Linked DNA regions of Homo sapiens: all the other regions are linked to region 1. Evidence: promoter capture Hi-C in 16 types of primary human blood cells and fetal thymus (Javierre and others, 2016). All regions are on one chromosome and are shown on one strand. Each heading gives the region's core, a stretch centred on a gene start or on the middle of the fragment in contact. The rest is flanking DNA. Distances are from core to core; before and after follow the strand shown.

What was found. Contacts are between HindIII fragments. The CHiCAGO score rates a contact against its expected background, and 5 or more counts as called.
Region 2: a contact is called between the fragment with the promoter of ZNF529 here and a fragment that was not itself captured in region 1, in 17 of 17 cell types (total CD4 T cells, naive CD8 T cells, activated CD4 T cells and 14 more). The highest score is 36.1, in total CD4 T cells.
Region 3: a contact is called between the fragment with the promoter of LINC00665 here and a fragment that was not itself captured in region 1, in 15 of 17 cell types (total CD4 T cells, naive CD8 T cells, total B cells and 12 more). The highest score is 25.3, in total CD4 T cells.

What each region holds. Positions count from the first base shown.
Region 1 is chr19:37,236,103-37,239,966 of GRCh38, reverse strand. All of the region lies in intron 5 of ZNF383 (zinc finger protein 383), which reads right to left. Among named protein-coding and RNA genes, the nearest start is that of LINC01535, 14 kb to the left of the region's middle. The HindIII fragment of the contact is 3,665 bases long and covers 444-3,864 here.
Region 2 is chr19:36,571,120-36,575,281 of GRCh38, reverse strand. ZNF529 (zinc finger protein 529) reads left to right here and starts at 1,990. Exons shown (of 5, transcript NM_020951.5): 1 at 1,990-2,142; 2 at 2,890-2,949. The coding sequence starts at 2,936. It overlaps ZNF529-AS1 (ZNF529 antisense RNA 1), which reads right to left and starts at 1,933. Exons shown (of 5, transcript NR_173348.1): 1 at 1,727-1,933; 2 at 382-461. RefSeq lists an enhancer at 1,844-1,933. The HindIII fragment of the contact is 11,229 bases long and covers 1-4,162 here.
Region 3 is chr19:36,329,641-36,333,861 of GRCh38, reverse strand. It overlaps LINC00665 (long intergenic non-protein coding RNA 665), which reads left to right and starts at 2,144. Exons shown (of 6, transcript NR_038279.1): 1 at 2,144-2,415; 2 at 3,370-3,609. The HindIII fragment of the contact is 13,687 bases long and covers 1,907-4,221 here.

The DNA of each region.
Region 1 (3,864 bases), core at 1,027-3,526:
AGGATGGTCTCAATCTCCTGACCTCATGATCCTCCCGCCTCGGCCTCCCAAAGTGCTGGGATTACAGGCGTGAGCCACTGCGCCCGGCAGATCTTGCAGTAACTTTCATCTAGTTAAGCTCCCAAGTAAAGTTTTGAAACTGCCCTCTTCTGTCTTCCACTGCCAATGTCATCTTCCAAACCAGAATCAACTCTTACCCAGACCAGTGAAGTAGCCTCCTCAACCAGTCTCCCCACCAAGCTCTCTCACCCTTTAATCTATTCAGGGAATAGTATCATTTGGCTTAGGTTTCCACTGCTCAAAGTCCGAACTCCTTACAATCTCCTGCAAAGGCTGAATGCTGTGGCTCCTGCCTGTCTATCCAAACCCTGACTCACACTCCACTCCCACTTGATCATGGGGCCCACCAACACTGGCATTTAGTCCTTCAAACACACCAAGCTTTTCCCCATCAGAACCTTCACAGGGGTTCTTCTCTCTGCCTGGAGTTTTCTTCTCTAGTAAAACATTAAACAAGACCTAGTGGCAAGCCTAGTACTACATTAATTCTGAAGTAGTGATGAGCATAAATATTTCAATATGCCTACAATAACAGTAAAATAATATGAACGTATCTGTGATTTCCATTAATGTCAAAGTCACAGTAACTACTACTACTACTACTGCTACTATGGTTTGTCCCATACATCACGATAGGAAGAAATGTTATATCTCAATTAGAGGTTATTAAATATAAAGATGTATTTTTGGTCTGGGCACAGTGGTTCATGCCTGTAATCCCAGCACTTTGGGAGACCAAGGCAGGTGGATCATGAGGTCACAAGTTCAAGACCAGCCTGGCAAAGATGGTGAAACCCCATCTCTACTAAAAATACAAAAATGAGCCGGGCGCAGTGGCAGGCGCCTATAATCCCAGCTACTCAGAAGGCTGAGGCAGTAGAATCGCTTGAACCTGCGGGGTGGAGGCTACAGTGAGCTGAGATCACACCACTGCACTCAAGCCTGGGTGACAGAGTGAGACTCCGTCTCAAAAAAAACCAAAAAGATGTATTTTTTTCTTCTCATCCAAGTTCATGGACTCCCTGAATTCTACCTAAAGGAATCCAAAGTTAGGAACCCCTAGAGCAAGAATGATCCTTTGCAAACATGATAATATCACTCTGCTAAATCATTCAATGGATTTACACCTCATTCGGAGTAAAATTCAAGGTCCACAAGACCCAAAATCATCTACAGGTACATCCAACTCCCATCCTGACCTGCACCCAGCATGCAAACACTCATAAGCCTGCTACTTTCCTGATCTCCTCTTCTACAATTCCCGCTTTGCTCATTCAATTTCAGCCATAATGGTGGCTGCCAAAAAGCTCTGAACTCGAGTACTTGGCTCTTCCTGTTCCCTTTGCCTGAATCTCTCCTAGCAGATATTTACATTACCTGTTCCCTCACTTCCTTCAAGTCTTCACTAAAAGAACACCTCATCAGAGAGGCCCTCTCTAGCCTCTCTTCACAGCACTTATCTATCACCCACCACCTGACATTTCATATACACATGGACATATAATAATATAGAAATATTATTAATATATGATATATATTTATACTATACCAATATATTAGTTACATGTAGATAAATGTAAGTGATATATAATTCTAAAAATATTTATATATCATATAATATTAATGTCATGCTAATATTGTTTTATACATATATACTTGACATTCATGTTTATCTTCTGCTATGGTTTGAATGTCTCTCCTTCAAAATTCAGCTGTTGCCAATGTGATAGTATTAAGAGGTGGGGGCCAGACACAGTGGCTCAAGCCTTTAATCCTAGCACTTTGGGAGGCCAAGGTGGGTGGATCGCTTGAACCCAGGAGTTAGAGACCAGCCTGGGCAACATGGCGAAACCCTGTCTCTACAAAAAATAGAAAAATTAGCTGGGCGTGGTGACGTGTGCCTGTGGGCCGAGCTACTCGGGAGGCTGAGGTGGGAGGATCACCTGAGCCCGGGAGGTTGAGGCTGTGGTGAGCCATGATTGTGCCGCTGCACTCCAGCCTGGGTGACAGAGTGAGACCCTGTCTCAAAAAAAAAAAAAAAATTCCAAAAACGAAGAGGTGAGGCCTTTAAGAGATGATCGGGCTTCAAGGACCCATCCCTCAAGGATGGGTTTCGGTGCTCTTACGAAGGGGCTTGATGGAAGGAGTTGGCTCTCTTGCCCTACTGCCTTCTGCCACACGAAGATGCAAGAAGGCCCTCATCAGATGACAGTGCCTTGATCTTAGAATTCTTAGCCTCCAGATCTATGAGAAAATAAATGTCTGTTCTTTATAAATTACTCGATGTGAGGTATTCTGCTGTAACAGCACAAAATGGACTAAGACATTTTCTCTCTTACCCTCTAGAATGTAGGCTTCAGAAGTGCAGAACTTTAGAATGCCTTCATGAATACTACAGTCCCAGCCCTTGGACCAATGCTTGGTACATAGTAGTGCTCAATAAGTACTCTTCTGGTTCTCCTACTTCATCCCAAATCTCTCCTGCTCTGCCACCTCTTCCTTTTTAATATAGGCACAGATCCTTTTTTTTTCTTGGCCCCAACAATATCTCTATACATAGTGATTGCAGTCACTTCCAAGGCTCCACCTACTACTTCAATAGGGATTAATTCCACTTCTACATAGTTAGCCTTTGACTTTCTGCTAAACTCCTTATCTCATTTCTCTTTTATACTACTCTACTTTGTGGAAGTCATATATGTATATATTTTAGCACCACTTTTGGACCTTGAATTTGTAAAGGTAACACAATTAGTAAACTGTAGCACCTGGAAGATTCCCTTACACAAACCAGGAAATTAAAAAACGTTCCATAAAGGAAACATTGAAGACAGTCTGATAAAACAGGTCACTGACAGGCAGCTATAATGAAGACCAGTACTTGGGCAAGGGGTGTGTGTGTGTGTGTCTCTGTGTGTGTGTGTGTGTGTGTGTGTGTGTGTGTGTGTGTGTTCACATGTGTGTATACAGACGCAATTATATTATTTTGGGGAGTGGTAGTAGAAAACACCTGTACAAGTCTAAAAAATGCAGAAGAGGGGCCGGACGCGGTGGCTCATGCCTGTAATCCCAGCACTTTGGGAGGCTGAGGCGGGTAGATCATGAGGTCAGGAGTTCAAGAACAGCCTGGCCAATATGGTGAAACCCCACCTCTACTAAAAATACAAAAATTAGCTGGGCATGGTGGCATGCGCCTGTAGTCCCAGCTACTCAGGAGGCTGAGGCAGAAGAATCGCCTGAACCCGGGAGGCAGAGGTTGCAGTGAACCAAGATCGCACCCTGCACTCCAGCCTGAGCGACGGAGCGAGACTCCGTCTCAAAAAAAAAAAAAAATGCAGAAGAAGAAAAAGAATTAGCCAGGCATGGTGGCACAGGCCTACGGTCCCAGCCACTTGGAAGGCTGAGGCAGGGAGACTGCCTAAGCCCAGAAGTTTGAGCCTACAATAAGTTATGATCATGTCACTGCACTCTAGCCTGGGTGACAGAGCCAGACCCTTTAAAAAAAAAGAAAAAAAAAGAGAGAGAGTAAAAAAAGCTAGCAAGCAGCTGAATCTAAAATACGGGTAAAATAGGGTTTTTTTTAGAGAAGTAAAAGGTACCTTCTGCTTGAAATTAAGAGGAGGATTGGAGAGGAGTAGTAGAAATAGTGGTAAGTGAGGAAAAGGGCGAAACAGGTTATTTAACAACTATGCTAAAAGGACTTCATTTTCTCCACTGGCCTAGTTTCTTGATGGGAGCTTCAGGGATAACATCTCAAAGGTGCTGTTTCCTCCCTGACCAGCTGAGTTCTGACCTATCGTGACT
Region 2 (4,162 bases), core at 741-3,240, 660 kb after region 1:
GATATTTTAGTTATTAGAAACTGTCATAATTCTGCAAGCAAAATGAAATACACCAGACACACAGAGTTCTTCAGTCATTAACATCACTTACATAGTGATCCATTTTCAGTTATCATGGAATGTACACACAAAACCATGATAAATAACAATTAGCACAGACACATTCAGTTTCCTGTGATCTTACCTACTCCACAAAGCCACAATCCTATGGATCCTACATGACATTCACAACCCTGTTGAGCCCATCTTATAATTCCATACAAACATAGCAAAGCAAACTCAGAAACTACTTACTCCAGTTACACAATCTCACACACACAAATCACAACTAATCATTCTAAAAGGCTTATCAGCTTCTTGGAAAGTTAAATGTAAACTTACCAATTACCCAGCAACTTTTCTTCTAAATATTTGCCCAGGAGAAATGGAAACGTGCCAGCTTTATTCGTAATGTATAAAACCTGTAAATATGCCAAATGTTCAACAACAGAAAAATGACTACACAAATTGTGGTATATTTGCACAATGGAGTGCTGTTCAGAAAAAGAAAAATGAACTACACATGAAATCTCACACACATTAGGGTAAACTAAAGGAGAAATATGGAATTCCGGAACTGACAGTTACAGTGACACAAATCAGAACTATGGCTGTCTCTGCTTTGAAACTGACTGGAAAGGACACCAGCAAACTCCGGTGGTGCTGGTGTTGTAAACCAAAAATAAAATCCTAAGCACACCCAGACCATCTTGAATGGACCCCTCCTCTTGGCCAGGGCATTCCTAACCTGAAAAACTAGTAAAGCCATGATGGAAAGGCGGGGGTGGGCGGGTCGGACATGCTTCATTATACCCTCCTCCATTTTGGAATTACTGATAGAAAAGACCCCAAGTCTGAAAAGAAACATTTACAATCTATTCTCTGTGAAGCGTGCTACCTGGAGACATTCCTAAGTCTTACGTCAATAACTCTTTCAACCCATTGCCAATCAAATAATCTTTGAATCTACCTATGACCTGGAAGGCCAGCCACCTTCCAGCTGTCCCGCCTTTCCGGAGGGAATCAATGTACATTTTACATGTATTTGATTGGTGTCTCATGTTTCCCTAAAAGGTATAAAACCACATATATCCCGTCCACCCTGGGCACAGGTTCTCAAGATCTCCTGAGGGCTGGGCCACCGGCCATTGGTCACTCATATTTAGCTCAGAATAAGTCTCTTCAAATACTTTAGAGTCTGAGTCTTTTCGTCAACAGTGTAAAACACGCCCTAAGGCAGACACACACACACTGAACCGCCGCTACCTGCCAGATTCCATCTGGGGCCTTTCTCATGGTGCAAAACGGACAAAAACTCCAAGTCACCCTCAGGTTTACGACCACGGGTCACATCCTGAGGCCCCCACACTTAGAAGCCAGAGTGGAGCAAAACCTCGCCCGACTCAGGCTCCGAGTTCTCCCCTCGACCCTCCCCAGCCTAAAGGCTGTACCCGCTTCAGGCCTTCCCAGCCCGGCCCTCCAGTTCCTTCTTCGGCCTCCCTCAGCCTGGGGTCCGGGTTTCCTCCTCGGCTGAGCAGCCGGGTCCGCGACTCCCTTCACCCTCCCCGGCCCGGGCTTCCGGTTCTTTCCAGAGGTGAGGCAGGGGCCACCTAGAATTCCGCGGCCCCCCACCTCCCCCAAGACCACCCTCGCCCCAGCTTCCTGTTCCCCATTCTGTCCTCCCAACCTGGGTTCCCGATTACTGCCTCGACTTCACCTTGCCGTCAGGGACCACCAGCCGCCTCTTCCGCGCCTAGGGGACGCGCAGCGGCAGCCTCTGCTGATGGCAAGGGTCTGCGCACCCGGAAACTCCAGGGTCTGGGGCGTGGTGCGGCCCCTGCGGCCAGCGGGCTCCGCTTGAGCTTCAGGGCTCTTTCGTTGTTGGACTACGTTTCCCACAGGCCTCAGGGCCGCGGATGAACTTCGACCTTTGCTTCCTTTTCCGGTGTTGTGGTTATTGAGTTAAGCCTGGCGAGTCGAGGTGACCCGGGCCGGGCTGCGGGAGGAGCTCGCGGTGAGGTGGCCCCGCGCTGCCGGGCGAGGTCGGTCCACGTGGAGCCGGGAGCCTGAGGCCTCTGTACGCGGGAGCTGCGGACGATGGTGGTTAGTGCTATTGTTTACGACGTCATTGTGGTGTGTGTGTGTGAGAGACGGAGACCCTAGTGTGTGCCGTGGGTGCTGTTTGATCGGACTCAGGACGGTGAGTAGGGGCGGGGTCTATCGTGTGACCCTGGTCTACGGTGACGTGATCGTGTGACAGCACTGTTGTGACCAACTATAAGTGTGAACGGGGTAGAAGTGTTTTTTTGTTTTTTTTTGTTTGTTTGTTTGTTCGTTTTTTTCCGTGAGCCTGTAGGAGTTTGTTTTGGGTAAAGCGTCATTTTTCCGACTCTGTGATGTCTGTGATGGAATCTCTTCGTGAGGTCTTATACACACACACACACGCATATAGATAGATTACATAGATGATATATAGAAGATAGATAAATGATAGATAATAGATAGATAGATAGATAGATAGATAAGATAGATAAATGAAGTTTCCTGGGAAGACGTGAAGGGGAGGGCATAGGTGTAGTATTCATTCCTGGGATAACTCCCCTTGCATGAGTTTGGAGGCCATTTATACATTAAAGAACTACAGTATTTCCTGAGCTGTGTTCCCTAGAAACTGCTAGGCATTGGTCGTACCTTTTTCTCGGATGTGGGGAGGAGTCGACAGTATTCTAGTTTCCCTCTTCGATCTGGGTGTGTTTGTTGTGTGTGATGGGCTTTTCTGGTGGTGAACACTGTGTTCTTATTTAACCAGTCCAGGATGTCATGAGTCCTTTCTCCCTCTTGGTTATGTAGTTCTGCAAGTGAAGGCCCCCTGAAGTGGAAGACAGCATTGGTACTAATGGCCAACTCAAGGTTAGTTTTTTTTTTTGTTCATTTACCTGGTCCCTTGGTTTTCTCTTCCCAATTAACAACAGGACCGTAGAGATGGGTCCCCTTGTCCTCCATTGCCTTTCCAAATGCCCATTTCCCTTTCATTGAATATTCACATATGCATTAGGTAAATCATTCAATTCTCCCATGTGCTTCTTTTTTTCCAAAGGATTTTTATGGTATAGAAATACAACTCCTGGAGGAGAAGTTAAAACTTTTTTTTAGAATGTAATTTGTTAAGGAGGAGACGAGTGATTAAGTAGAATGGCACACTAGATACCTTTGATCTTATTTACAGACTTGATTTGCAAACAAAGCAAGATAGGAGATGGTAGGTATTAATCAGTAAGTGACAAAGTTGGCTTTGGAGACATTTAGGAGTGGGAATATGATAGGAGTTTTATGCAGAGAGGCTATGTCAACAAGGGCAGGGAGTTTTTCCAGAACATTCATGAGGGGATTTAAGTGGTGACAACCAAATCTTCTTTGAGATTTGGCAGTGTGACATTGGTGTAGATTGTGAGAGGCAGCCTGATACAGTGGTGTCTGAGTCTAAAGCAGCACAGTCTAATGCAAATATAATATAAAGCCACTTAGGTAATTTAAAAATTTCCATTAGACACTTTTTTTTTTTTTTTTGAGACAGAGTTTCACTGTTATTGCCCAGGCTGGAGCGCAATGGTGCGATCTCAGTTCACTGCAACCTCTGCCTCCCAGGTTCAAGTGAGTCTCCTGCCTCAGCCTCCCAAGTAGCTGGGATTACAGGCGCCCGCCACCATGCCCGGCTAATTTTTGAATTTTTAGTAGAGAAGGGGTTTCATCATGTTGGCTGGGCTGGTATCGAACTCCTGACCTCAGGTGATCCACCCACCTCATCCTCCCAAAGTGCTGGGATTACAGGCGTGAGCCACTGCGCCCGGCTTTAAACACATTTTAAAAAGAAAAAGAAACAGCTGAAGTTAATTTTGGTAATGTATTTTATTTAAACCAATATATCCAAAATATTATTTCAACATGTAATGATATGAATACACTGAAATACTTTACACTCATATCTTTATACCAAGTTTTCAAAATCTGGTATATGTTTTATTGTTATTGCATGTCTCAATTTGGATGCTAAATTTTCAGTGTTTAGGGTGAATTATAGTCCTACCAAAACAATAAAGTTGTGTTTAATAGAAAAACATTTATA
Region 3 (4,221 bases), core at 895-3,394, 910 kb after region 1:
TGCCTTTGCTGTATTTTTTTTTGCATTCTCATTTATTGATTTTTCAGGATTCTTAAAATAGTTTAGTATCGGTCGGGTGCGGTGGCTCACGCCTGTAATCCCAGCACTTTGAGAGGCCAAGGCAGGTGGATCACCTGAGGTCAGGAGTTCAAGACCAGCCTGGCCAACATGGTGAAACCCCATCTCTACTAAAAATACAAAAATTAGCTGGGCGTGGTGGTGCTCACCTGTAATCCCAGCTACTCGGGAGGCTGAGGCAGGAGAATCTCTTGAACCCAGGAGGCAGAGGTTGCAGTGAGCCGAGATCGCGCCACTGCACTCCAGCCTGGGTGACAGAATGAGACTCCCTCTCAAAAAAAAAATTTTTTTTTTAGGTATTGATCATTTTAGGTATTAAACATTTATAACCTGACCTCAAGTTATCTGCCTGCCTCGACCTCCCAAAGTGCTGGGATTATAGGCATAAGCCACCAATTCTGGCCTCTTTTTCTCTCCAATTCTGAAGCTTCACCACAAAGCAGTCAGAAACCAGGGACAGTAAGCCAGGAAATGAGGAAAAGAACTGAAAAGGCAGAAGCCATCCATATTTTATTTCCTCCTCTGCCATCTTACCACACTCCTTCCCCTTCCCCCACAGCATGGCTGAACTAAGGGAGAGCAGAACCCTCATCTGTAAAAAATGCTTAAGGTTTCTTTTTCTTTCCCTCCCTCCCTCCCTTCCCTTCTGTGGGGAAAAGAGAGATCAGACTGTTACTGTGTCTATGTAGAAAGAAGTAGACATAAGAGATTCCATTTTGTTCTGTACTAAGAAAAATTCTTCTGCCTTGAGATGCTGTTAATCTGTAACCCTAGCCCCAACCCTGTGCTCACAGAGACATGTGCTGTGTTGACTCAAGGTTCAATGGATTTAGGGCTATGCTTTGTTAAAAAAGTGCTTGAAGATAATATGCTTGTTAAAAGTCATCACCATTCTCTAATCTCAAGTACCCAGGGACACAATACACTGCGGAAGGCCGCAGGGACCTCTGTCTAGGAAAGCCAGGTATTGTCCAAGATTTCTCCCCATGTGATAGCCTGAGATATGGCCTCATGGGAAGGGTAAGACCTGACTGTCCCCCAGCCCGACATCCCCCAGCCCGACACCCGAAAAGGGTCTGTGCTGAGGAGGATTAGTAAAAGAGGAAGGCCTCTTTGCAGTTGAGGTAAGAGGAAGGCATCTGTCTCCTGCTCGTCCCTGGGCAATAGAATGTCTTGGTGTAAAACCCGATTGTATGTTCTACTTACTGAGATAGGAGAAAACATCCTTAGGGCTGGAGGTGAGACACGCTGGCGGCAATACTGCTCTTTAATGCACCGAGATGTTTGTATAAGTGCACATCAAGGCACAGCACCTTTCCTTAAACTTATTTATGACACAGAGACCTTTGTTCACGTTTTCCTGCTGACCCTCTCCCCACTATTACCCTATTGGCCTGCCACATCCCCCTCTCCGAGATGGTAGAGATAATGATCAATAAATACTGAGGGAACTCAGAGACCAGTGTCCCTGTAGGTCCTCCGTGTGCTGAGCGCCGGTCCCTTGGGCTCACTTTTCTTTCTCTATACTTTGTCTCTGTGTCTCTTTCTTTTCTCAGTCTCTCGTTCCACCTGACGAGAAATACCCACAGGTGTGGAGGGGCAGGCCACCCCTTCAATAATTTACTAGCCTGTTCGCTGACAACAAGACTGGTGGTGCAGAAGGTTGGGTCTTGGTGTTCACCGGGTGGCAGGCATGGGCCAGGTGGGAGGGTCTCCAGCGCCTGGTGCAAATCTCCAAGAAAGTGCAGGAAACAGCACCAAGGGTGATTGTAAATTTTGATTTGGCGCGGCAGGTAGCCATTCCAGCGCAAAAATGCGCAGGAAAGCTTTTGCTGTGCTTGTAGGCAGGTAGGCCCCAAGCACTTCTTATTGGCTAATGTGGAGGGAACCTGCACATCCATTGGCTGAAATCTCCGTCTATTTGAGGCTGACTGAGCGCGTTCCTTTCTTCTGTGTTGCCTGGAAACGGACTGTCTGCCTAGTAACATCTGATCACGTTTCCCATTGGCCGCCGTTTCCGGAAGCCCGCCCTCCCATTTCCGGAAGCCTGGCGCAAGGTTGGTCTGCAGGTGGCCTCCAGGTGCAAAGTGGGAAGTGTGAGTCCTCAGTCTTGGGCTATTCGGCCACGTGCCTGCCGGACATGGGACGCTGGAGGGTCAGCAGCGTGGAGTCCTGGCCTTTTGCGTCCACGGGTGGGAAATTGGCCATTGCCACGGCGGGAACTGGGACTCAGGCTGCCCCCCGGCCGTTTCTCATCCGTCCACCGGACTCGTGGGCGCTCGCACTGGCGCTGATGTAGTTTCCTGACCTCTGACCCGTATTGTCTCCAGATTAAAGGTAAAAACGGGGCTTTTTCAGCCCACTCGGGTAAAACGCCTTTTGATTTCTAGGCAGGTGTTTTGTTGCACGCCTGGGAGGGAGTGACCCGCAGGTTGAGGTTTATTAAAATACATTCCTGGTTTATGTTATGTTTATAATAAAGCACCCCAACCTTTACAAAATCTCACTTTTTGCCAGTTGTATTATTTAGTGGACTGTCTCTGATAAGGACAGCCAGTTAAAATGGAATTTTGTTGTTGCTAATTAAACCAATTTTTAGTTTTGGTGTTTGTCCTAATAGCAACAACTTCTCAGGCTTTATAAAACCATATTTCTTGGGGGAAATTTCTGTGTAAGGCACAGCGAGTTAGTTTGGAATTGTTTTAAAGGAAGTAAGTTCCTGGTTTTGATATCTTAGTAGTGTAATGCCCAACCTGGTTTTTACTAACCCTGTTTTTAGACTCTCCCTTTCCTTAAATCACCTAGCCTTGTTTCCACCTGAATTGACTCTCCCTTAGCTAAGAGCGCCAGATGGACTCCATCTTGGCTCTTTCACTGGCAGCCCCTTCCTCAAGGACTTAACTTGTGCAAGCTGACTCCCAGCACATCCAAGAATGCAATTAACTGTTAAGATACTGTGGCAAGCTATATCCGCAGTTCCGAGGAATTCATCCGATTGATTATGCCCAAAAGCCCCGCGTCTATCACCTTGTAATAATCTTAAAGCCCCTGCACCTGGAACTATTAACTTTCCTGTAACCATTTATCCTTTTAACTTTTTTGCTTACTTTATTTCTGTAAAATTGTTTTAACTAGACCTCCCCTCCCCTTTCTAAACCAAAGTATAAAAGAAGATCTAGCCCCTTCTTCAGAGCGGAGAGAATTTTGAGCATTAGCCATCTCTTGGCGGCCAGCTAAATAAATGGACTTTTAATTTGTCTCAAAGTGTGGCGTTTTCTCTAACTCGCTCAGGTACGACATTTGGAGGCCCCAGCGAGAAACGTCACCGGGAGAAACGTCACCGGGCGAGAGCCGGGCCCGCTGTGTGCTCCCCCGGAAGGACAGCCAGCTTGTAGGGGGGAGTGCCACCTGAAAAAAAAATTTCCAGGTCCCCAAAGGGTGACCGTCTTCCGGAGGACAGCGGATCGACTACCATGTGGGTGCCCACAAAAATTCCACCTCTGAGTCCTCAACTGCTGACCCCGGGGTCAGGTAGGTCAGATTTGACTTTGGTTCTGGCAGAGGGAAGCGACCCTGATGAGGGTGTCCCTCTTTTGACTCTGCCCATTTCTCTAGGATGCTAGAGGGTAGAGCCCTGGTTTTCTGTTAGACGCCTCTGTGTCTCTGTCTGGGAGGGAAGTGGCCCTGACAGGGGCCATCCCTTGAGTCAGTCCACATCCCAGGATGCTGGGGGACTGAGTCCTGGTTTCTGGCAGACTGGTCTCTCTCTCTCTCTTTTTCTATCTCTAATCTTTCCTTGTTCAGGTTTCTTGGAGAATCTCTGGGAAAGAAAAAAGAAAAACTGTTATAAACTCTGTGTGAATGGTGAATGAATGGGGGAGGACAAGGGCTTGCGCTTGTCCTCCAGTTTGTAGCTCCACGGCGAAAGCTACGGAGTTCAAGTGGGCCCTCACCTGCGGTTCCGTGGCGACCTCATAAGGCTTAAGGCAGCATCCGGCATAGCTCGATCCGAGCCGGGGGTTTATACCGGCCTGTCAATGCTAAGAGGAGCCCAAGTCCCCTAAGGGGGAGCGGCCAGGCGGGCATCTGACTGATCCCATCACGGGACCCCCTCCCCTTGTTTGTCTAAAAAAAAAAAAAGAA